3 separate regions of the Homo sapiens genome follow, and all the other regions are linked to region 2. The links are contacts of gene promoters, found by promoter capture Hi-C in human tissues and cell types (Jung and others, 2019). All regions are on one chromosome and are shown on one strand. The core of a region is centred on a gene start or on the middle of the fragment in contact, and the rest is flanking DNA. Distances in the headings are between cores, read along the strand shown. Region 1 overlaps FUBP3 (far upstream element binding protein 3). Region 2 holds the start of ASS1 (argininosuccinate synthase 1). Region 3 overlaps FUBP3 (far upstream element binding protein 3).

The links. Contacts are between HindIII fragments. The study calls those that stand out against the background at their distance.
Region 1: a contact is called between a fragment that was not itself captured here and the fragment with the promoter of ASS1 in region 2, in 1 of the 25 tissues and cell types used here (spleen).
Region 3: a contact is called between a fragment that was not itself captured here and the fragment with the promoter of ASS1 in region 2, in 1 of the 25 tissues and cell types used here (mesenchymal stem cells).

The regions. Positions count from the first base shown.
Region 1 is chr9:130,637,474-130,640,498 of GRCh38, reverse strand. FUBP3 (far upstream element binding protein 3) reads right to left here. Exons shown (of 19, transcript NM_003934.2): 19 at 2,147-3,025. Among named protein-coding and RNA genes, the nearest start is that of MIR6856, 13 kb to the right of the region's middle. RefSeq lists an enhancer at 1,652-2,247. The HindIII fragment of the contact is 6,178 bases long and covers 1-3,025 here.
Region 2 is chr9:130,443,263-130,446,482 of GRCh38, reverse strand. ASS1 (argininosuccinate synthase 1) reads right to left here and starts at 1,522. Exons shown (of 15, transcript NM_054012.4): 1 at 1,488-1,522. RefSeq lists an enhancer at 52-719 and a silencer at 1,600-1,719. The HindIII fragment of the contact is 13,908 bases long and covers 1-3,220 here.
Region 3 is chr9:130,582,521-130,585,895 of GRCh38, reverse strand. The region is part of intron 1 of FUBP3 (far upstream element binding protein 3); the gene reads right to left. Among named protein-coding and RNA genes, the nearest start is that of FUBP3, 4.6 kb to the right of the region's middle. The HindIII fragment of the contact is 6,365 bases long and covers 1-3,375 here.

The sequences.
Region 1 (3,025 bases), core at 80-2,579, 190 kb before region 2:
TATCAGGCCCATTTGCTTCAGCCCATCTTAAAAAACCCCAGCTGGGCCCTAGTGGACCAGAAGTGGGGCTGGGAGAGAGTGGGGCTGTAGCCAGCTAGAAGCTGCGGCTCTGGGGTGACCCACGTTCTCATGGACCAGGCACTGCACTGTGCCATCTGTGCCCCAGCCGACCCTACCTTGGGGGCTCTGGGACATCATGGGTGGTCACCACTGTCGAGTGACCCTGGAAAGATGGTGCCTCCTATCTGATGGGAGGCCAGGGGTACTGATTGAGGCCCGCTGGCTGAGAACTCCTCAACCCCAGCCCAAACTTCTGGGTGGGGCTGGGATCGGCTCAGCAGGGTCCTTGATGGATCCTGAACTTGGGAGGCTGGCAGAGACCCAGTAGGCATGGGCGGTGGCGGGTGGGGGTGGGGCATGCATTCAGAAGACAGACTGGGCAAGCGCCCGCCCCGCCTCCCGGACCCCGACCGCCCTTACAGTGATGACCATGCATCTTTCTTAATGGAACACAACCGCTGAACTTGGTACATTTCAAGCACTTTAGCCTCCAGTACACCAGACTGCTGATGAAAATCATCTTCCTTGGGCGCCATGTTAATGAGAGGCCAAATTTCATATGCTTGCAAACTTTCCCCCCCCGCCTCCTGTCGTACCACACCCCCTCCCCCCAATAAAAGATTGCATCAGAGAGAAAGAGAGATTTCCATAATTTATAGTATGGGCATTTCACTGGGGACAAGCGCTAATCTGTACTTACCGATACATTTAAGAAAATGCATCCTCCGCAAGCCTGCGCCATTTATGACTCTTGGCACAAACCACAATGCTCAGTCTTCAATTAAGGGACACCTTAGGGTTCATTATCACACAATCGCTCCCTGTGAACCATGCCAAATGCTGTTTTGGCACAGAGCTTGGAAGATGAATTAGAAGGAAGTCTTCTCTGTAATGCCCTCTCCCGAATTCCCATTACCGTCATCAGCGTTTACGCCCTCCTCCCACTCGGCCCCCTCCCCCCACTTTCCAAGTGCCTTTTACTATTCAATTTCTCAACGTCAAACTCGATTCTCTAGAGGTGCAGTTAAAAATGCCACATCTCCTTTTTGTCTTCCGGCTCTCAACAGGCCTGCCATGGCCGCAGATGGGCTGCTCTCCACACCCCTTTTCGGCCTGAAGGAGCCACAGCTGCTTTTTTCCCCTCCTGTCAGAAGCTTGGAGTACAGACAAGGGGCCGGTATTGGCCAGGCACAGCCCAGCAAGCCCCGTTCAGGATGGAAACAGGTCTCTATATCTAAGTAGAGACCCGCACAGAAAGCCTGAGGGCGAAGGCAGGGCCCCTCAGACGTGAAAGCAGACACTGCTCAATGCCAGTCACCCCAACCAACGGGACAGAAGGAAAAAAAAAGGCGAGGGCTGATGCTATTACTTAATGCCCTTCCAAGTCTGAGGCCCACACTGTCGCCACGAGTCCTAAGACCACAGGACTGTAACTTAACACCTCTGGGGAAGGACGCCCCATTTGTTTCTTCATGAAAGGACAGGACATAACGAGCACGTGTGCTGATGCTTCCCAGCCCTCCTGGCGATCTGGTGTCCCACCGTGGGCACGGGGCTAAGAGCGAGAAAGCACCACCACCACAGCCACAGGTGAGGCTGGGGACAAGGAGGTGGGGGATGCAGGCAGCAACAGTCAGGGAAGCACACCGCGCCTAGGGCAGCCCACCTACATTTGCAGGCGAATGTGTGTGCATGGGCACGCAGGGAAGGGGAGCGGGCGGAGGGCAAGGGGCTGCCCAGTCAGTCGCAGAAGTCTGCTGACCCGCCGCACGCCCTTCAATGCATCTCCCAGCTCCATCCGATGACACTCCCATACTGACTTCTCACTTACAGATGCCTGACTGTGACAGGGAAGGGGAGCTGAGCCCAACCACGGCTCTCAAGTCAAGCTGTCAAATCATACAGAGCCATTAACATAAAATTAGCTTAACGAACTAGCTAGACATCTAGACTGTGCACCAACGAAGGCGGGTGGACGCGGTGCAAGATGACGGGCGAGGCCCGCAGGAATCCTCTTTCCCTCTCGGGCGGCCGCGGGCAGGGGCAGAGGGATGAACCGGCGAATGGAAAGCAAACAGGCCAGAAAGACTTTGCCCACAAGATGCCTTGTGGAGATTTTATTATATAGAGTGTAAAATGAATTGTCAGTCAAATAAAAAGAACACTTTGTTTTCTTAAAAACCCCATGCATAACATTTTCCAATTGTCTTTTTTAATAGTTAGACATTTCAAGCATTATAAGAAAAATAAGGAGAAAAAACCAGAAACTGTAACTTCAGTACATTTCAAACGGAATGTCCCTCAGGTCAATTAGAAATGCAAGAAAAAATAGCTTCAATTCCGTTTTTTTTCCTTTAAAAATACATGTTATCTGTACAAGATACACTACAGTAAACACTGGAAATCATATTATCCCTTTCATTAAATCAAAATTATTTAATTCATAATGCGGTTAATACTAGATTTATTTATTCATCTAGTTAATCTGACAAAATATTAAGAAAATATTTAAAAGAAAAAAGCAAACAACACCTTGGAATTAAAAATAGTTATAACTACATTTTTATACGGTTTAATGTTCCACAGTGTGTGTTAAAAGTTATATTGAATTTCTTAATATTAAAAATAACAGTATTTATATTTCTGAGATAATAGAGAAAGGTTTTTTGTTTTGTTTTAAAAACAAGCTTGGAGGTCTTAGATACACAATTGCAACTGGTAATGGAGGCATGAGAAAAACGTAGGCTAAACACACGAGCACATTTTTATATTACCCCTTTCGAACTCTAGAAATTATACAAACCCTACAAAATGCCCCTCCCAACCCCTGTTGGACAGCAATACAATTATCTGTCTCAGTTCAGAATTCACATCATTCATTACAATACATAATAGTTCAGTTTTTTTAAAAATGCAATAAAACCAGACAGCCAAGATACAAGAAATTAGAAGTAAAACATTAAAT
Region 2 (3,220 bases), core at 273-2,772:
AGCATGGTGCACAGATGGCCCCGCCAGGACAGGGTCCCGCCCCCACCCCCAAACTTCCCCGCCCTAGGCCTTGGGCCTAAGGGGTCTGGGAGGGAGAGGGAGTTTGGAATGGAGACTCCTCCAGTTCCTGCTCCTAGCCAAGCTTCCCAGTCCGTGTGGCTGCTTCTCCCTCCCTCTCATCAGAACCTAACCCCAGGCACAGTTATTGTGCAATTGGACCCAGGCCCAGCACCCAACAGTCTACAGAGCCCTTAGCAGCCGCACAGTATCTGCAAATGTTTCCTGAGCCCTCAGCCCCAGCCAGCTCTAACAGACTGAAGCTTGGGGGCCAGGCACTTTGGGTGGCTCGAGCCTGTAATCCTAGCAGTTTAGGAGGCCCGAGGGAGGAGGGTCGCTTGAGCCCAGGAGCTCGAGGCCAGCCTGGGCAACATGACGAGTCCACATCTCTGATAAATTTTTAGAAAGAAAAGAAAATGAAAAGGAAGCTTGGGAATCTGGAGGCTGAGCCAAGGCCTCACCAGCTCTCCCCATCACTGGGTTTGTGCTTGCTGGGAGCGGGAGGATCAAAGCCCAAGTCCCCTAGGTCTTGATCTACCCCTGGGGAGAGAACAGGTCTGTTCCTGCCCTGAGACCTGCAGCCTGACTCGGCTGCTCGGGAGTGGACTCTCCACTTCTCAGAGAAGAATACTGAGGCCAGGCCAGCCCTCCTCAGGAACAGCCCTGGCCGCCTGGGAGAGGAGTTTCCTCTCTTTCACAATGACCCTGCCTCCCTGGAGGGCGCAGCCGCCCAGGGGCCAAAGGCAACAGCAGCCCGAATAGAAAATATTCCTGGCACTGCCCCTCCCACAGAGCCCAGCCCAGGCCAGCAGGAAACCCCGCCGCGAGGCCGCCAGCCCCACCGGGGAGGGCCAGGTGGCTGCCGCCCCCTGCAGGGAAGGGAGCCAGGGCCACCATGCCCATCTGTCCAGGGTAAACTGAGGCTGCGGGGAAAGCGATACGTCCAAGCCCCAGAGGGGCTGGACTCCTGGTTTTACGCAGAGAAATAGAGGTGGAGACAGACGGCGAGTCCGAGAGAGGGAGAGAGAATCGGGAGCCCCCCCACACGCTCCGGACTCCCCAGGTCTCCATGTGGGGGCTTCACGACACAGAGGAAGCCGGATCCGACAAGGAGTCCAGAAAGGACCCGGCTGCGCAGGGAACAAATAACCCGAGCCGCTCTTCGGACCCGGGGACTCGCGCCCCCGGGGACTCGCGCCCCCGCCGCGTCCCCCACGCTCCAGAAACCTGGAATCCGGTGCCAGGCGTTTGAGCATCGGGAGCCCCTTCCCTCCTGCCTCGGTCCCAGTCCCCGGCGAGTGGCGATCGGGGTCCGCCCTCTGCCTCCGCGGGCCCCGGGGCGGGCGTCTTCTACGCCTCCTCCTCTGGGCCCGGGAAGCGGGTGCTCTCGGCTAGGGAGTGGGCAGCGAGAGGGGCCGAGGGCTCCTTACCGGGCTCGGGCAGCGGTGGCAGGCGGCAGAGCAGGACTGGCAGGGGTGCCCATCCCAGGTTATAAGCACAGGGCCCGGGGGCAGGGCCGGTGACCGGGGACACGTGGCGGGGACGCGCGCCACAGACCCCGCCCCCGGGCCCGGCCCCCGCCTGGAGCCGCTCAGCGTTCACAGCCACCTGCAGATGGGCGGGGCCCGCCTCCCCAGGCCTCGTCCCCACCTCCCCCCGCCTCCCACCAGGTCCGGGCCTGGGCCCGGCGCCGGCTCACCCTCCCAGGGGCGCGCCGGCGGGGGCGCAGGCGGCTCGCGGTTCCTGGCCCTGGCCCGCGGGCTGGAGGCGCCAAGGAGGGCGGCAGTGGCTGCGACCCATGTAACTCAGGGGCGGAGGGTGGCCGCAGCCGTCCTTCGAGAGACTTGCCTCCTGGCCCTGGGGAAGCAATTTAAACGCTTCGCGGTGGGAGCCGGGATAAAAGTTCCACTGGCGCAGGGAGCTTCGTGCTCACTTCTATCCGGTGCCGGCAGCCTGGGCCTTCTGCAGCCCCCAGAGCCCCCTCCCTCCCCAACCATAGCCTCTGGTAGCCGAGTAAGGATGAGAAAACCGAGGTGAGCCGGCGCGGGAAGGCCCGGCTTTCATCCCTTAGGCCAGGGCTGATTGCTGGCCTGTCTTCTCAGAGCCTGGCACCTGCCCAGACTCCAGAGGGCACCCAGTAAGCAGTGAGTAAAAGACTGTCTGGCTGCGAACCCACTAGACAGGAGGGAAGGTTGAGGTTCAGAGAGAAGTCTCTTGCTTGTAAAAAGCAGCTGGGAGTTGTGACCCCAGGCCCGCCTTCAACAGCTTCTCTACCTCAGGAGTTTCCCAGCTTGGTCTGCCGGCTCCAAAGCCCTGATCACTGCAACCACAGCCCCAGTAAAAGAGCAAGTCCTGGGACCCCATCCAAGGCAGTTGCTCCATAGTGAGCACTGACCCCAGAAGGGAGGACTCCCGGTCCTCAGCCGGCTCTGAACCTGGGGGAGGTGGGAGCCCCAAGCCTTGCCCAGCCGCTACCCTGGAGTCAGTGCTCCTTTTAATCACCATCCACTCTCAGCCCCTCTGCCAGTCAGCCCCCACCACCCCCTCAAGCCCATGGCAAGCAACAGTAGCTGTGAGTCCTTCTAGAAGGAAAAAAGGATCAAACCAATTCACAAACAAAGCCACAGCTCGATTCTCTCTTAAGCCCCTTAGTTCTCTGACACTTAAACCTGGGATGTGGCCCTTGATGGCAAAGGGGCCCCTGGTGAGCCACGTGGGGCTGGGTGTACATGGGTGGCTTGAGGCCCCTTCTAGATGGGAGGCGGTATCACAGCTGGCCCCCCTCAGCCCTCTCACAGGAGCAGCTGGGGGTCTCGTGGAGTCTCTGGGCCTCCCACACTAGCAGGAGGCAAGTGAGGAACACCTACACAATGACACCCTTGCAGCAGTTGTGTGTCCTTGGGGCGGTCACTCCCCACTGCAGCCTGTTTTCTCATTGGTAGGGTCGCCCTGGAAAGAGCAAGCATTCTGTTTTCACCTTCACGACTACCCTGTATGAAGTACCTGTGATTGTTATCTCAATGGTATGGGCAGAAACCTGCTGCACAGAATGACGGTGTATCTTTCCCAAGGCCACACAGCATGTGAGTGGCAGAGCGGAGCTAGAATCCAGTGTCTGAAGCTCTGGCTCAAACCCTCTGCTTTAGCTCCAGCCTGAGCTGAA
Region 3 (3,375 bases), core at 436-2,935, 140 kb before region 2:
AAGGGAGTATGAATAGACAGCAGACATAACATAAGAAAGCACAAGAACCAAAATAACATGGTGAGCTTTTTCCAGATCCAGTTAGATGGATGCTCTGAATGTCTAAGGGTTTGAAGGGACTGCTGAAATTATCTAGCTCCACATTTCCTGACGTTTGATGCACAGAATGTGATTTGGTTCCATGGAAAGAGGGCACGAAGTGATCTAACTTCAGGACATTTACGAAACACACCCTAAACCCTGTAGGAGTTAATGCACATAAGCATGTTAAAGGTTCTGAGAAGTCCTACAGTAAAGAAGCCAATTCACCTTTATTTAATCCTGCATTCCCCAAACTTAACTGCCCATGATCTCTTTTCCACGGAAGATCTTTAAACAGCCTATAGATCAAATGCTAGGAAAGCCCAACCCAGCCCAAGGTCATGCATCGGCTTACAGGCAACTCAGACCTCCTAACTCTCAATCCAGAGCTTTCCATTAGAAATTTCAAATAAAAACCAGAGGCGACTGACTCACAATTTACAAAAAGATAAGTAAAAAACTGTCAATTAGGCATCCCAAAGAACAGTATAAAACAATAGCAAGATGGCGGGAATGAAGACAACCCGGAGAGTGTGAATGCCTCATGTCAAAAACGCAGCAGCTACTCAGCTCCTGCTGATTATCGCTGTGCAGGCTGTGGGAGCAGTGTGGCCAGATCTTTTCTAGGGAAACCAGAAATCTTTTTTTTTCTTTTGAGACAGAGTCTCACTTTGTCGCCCAGGCTGGAGTGCAATGATGCAATCTCCACTCACTGCAACCTCTGTCTCCCAGGTTCAAGCAATTATCGTGGTTCAGCCTCTCGAGTAGCTGGGATTACAGGTGCGTGCCACCACACCTGACTCATTTTTGTATTTTAAGTGGAGGCAGGGTTTCACCATGTTGGCCAGGTTGGTCTCATCCTGACCTCAAGTGATCTCCCTGCCTCGGCCTCCCAAAGTGCTGGGATTACAGGCATGAGCCACAGTGCCTGACCGAAACTTTTTTTGGGATGGAGGCTTGCTCTGTTGCCCAGGCTGGAGTGCAGTGGCACCATCCCGGCTCACTGCAACCTCCACCTCCTGGGTTTAAGCAATTCTCCTGCCTCAGCCTCCAGAGTAGCTGGGATTACAGACATGTGCCACCACGCCCAGCTAATTTTTGTATTTTTAGTAGAGACGGGGTTTTGCCATGTTGGCCAGGCTGGTCTCAAACTCCTGACCTCAAGTGATCCACCTGCCTCAGCCTCCCAAAGTGCTGGGATTACAGGCATTAGCCACCATGCCCAGCCCGAAATCTTGCTCTCTCTTTTTTTTAATGCAAAATCACTCTAGTTTCTTTTGTTTTTTGAGACAAAGTTTTGCTCTTTTCACTCAGGCTTGAATGCAATGGCACGATCTCGGCTCACTGCAACCTCTGCCTCCCAGGTTCAAGCTATTCTCCCACCTCAGCTTCCTGAGTAGCTGGGATTACAGGCACCTGCCACCACACCCAGCTAATTTTTGTATTTTTAGCAGAGATGGGGTTTTGCCACGTTGACCAGGCTGGTCTCGAACTCCTGAGTTCAAGTGATCCGCCCACCTCGGCCTCCCAAAGTGCTGGGATTACGGGTGTAAGCCACCGTGCCCAGCCAAAAATCACTCTAGTTTTTAAGTGTTGGTGCTGGGTGGGTCAAACAAAGCATGCCTGCAGGCCCATAGTAAGTCTTCTATAGCTCACAGGCCACAAGTTTGAGAACTGTGGTCTAAGTAAATTTCTATTTATGAAATAACTGGTACTTCAGAAGAAACCAAAGTTTGGTAATACACATGGGCTATCAGATTTTAAAATAAAGACAGCCAGGCATGGGGGCACGGTGCCTCACACCCATCCCAGCACTTTGAAAGACTGAGGTGGGAGGATTGCTTGAGGCCAGGAGTTCGAGACCAGCCTGGGCAACATAGTGAGACCCTGTCTCTACCCCAAAATAATTATATTATATGATAAATTATCACATTATAAATGTTCTCATCTGCAAATGAGAAAAGCCTTAGAGACATACAGTGGAATATATAGTTTATTTACTATCTACTTTCCAATACCCAGTATGAAGTTCAGCACTTCCATTAACATGTGGTGGCGCACACACACTCAGTGACATCACCAAAACCCTTTAAGGAAGACTCACTCCGCCAGGTACTCTACTGGGTCCCAACAATGTAAAGCTACAGGAGCAGCCCGTGGATTTCCTGCAGACACTAGTTTCCTTCAAGTGTTTATGAAAGCTAAAATGAGTGTACAGGCAGGAGTTAGTCCCTTGTGAAATGATGACTTGAGCTATTCAATCACTGGACATGTACAAGACAGTCTCAGTGGAGTACCACTTAGATCTCTTGAGTGTTCAGCACACTTGACTGAGCCGGGAGTCAAAACCATGTGTTAAATGAGCCTCGCAGGGCGAACCCACTGGCCAATGAATGGAGGCTTTTTCTTTTAATGGTAGATGTACAGTGTTCTCTTAAAAGGAAACCTAGTGCTTGTTCTAAGAAGTCAGAATCTTAAAGCATTAAAGTTCTAAATCAGCCCAGGGTATACAACACACATCCCAAATTACCTACTGCTCAGGCTTAAACTGTGAAACAGCAGCACTGGGAGAGATTTTCAGGAGGACTGTGGAACTTCTGAGGCCCCACACCAATCAACATTTCCCCAAAATAGGTGCCAGTGAAGAAGAGGTTCGGGCCTAAAAATCTGTCAAAAGGTTACTTTCTACTGATTCTACAATGGCTTGGTCACACTCATTTAAGTGTAGTGCTACCGTGATGCCGAACGAACTCTATGAAGCACCATTTAGACTGCATTCTGTATCAACATTATATGCTGTAGTTATACAATCCAGAGGCATTGAGTGGGTCTATCTAGATCAAAACAGATCTAATGCTTTTTAAAGTCCTAAAAAGTATTAGTAGTTTCTCGGAGAACAATTTCTATTTAGGCGACGACTGGCAGACAGCTAGCTGGTCCAGCTTGTGGAAGGCTGCTGTCAACCTATAATGCACTGTGGCATCACACTCTCCTAACAAGGGATTGCTCACGGGTGATGACAGGTGCTACTAAGTTATCAATGGTAGACCTTCTAGGAACATTTAAAAATATTTTTAGGAGAATGGAACAACATAAACCAGACTTGGATCTACTCATCCAGAGGTCCCCTTGTAACCTAGGCAGACAGTCAGTATAGAAGTGCAGAGGACGGCTGTGGAACAGGATGAACTACTCAGGATTTTGTCTTATCTGAACTAGTTGAAGAAACACTACTTCTGCTAACCAGCCAATGACTTGGGAAAAGTAGACAGATGTTTTTTAATATCCAGCAGT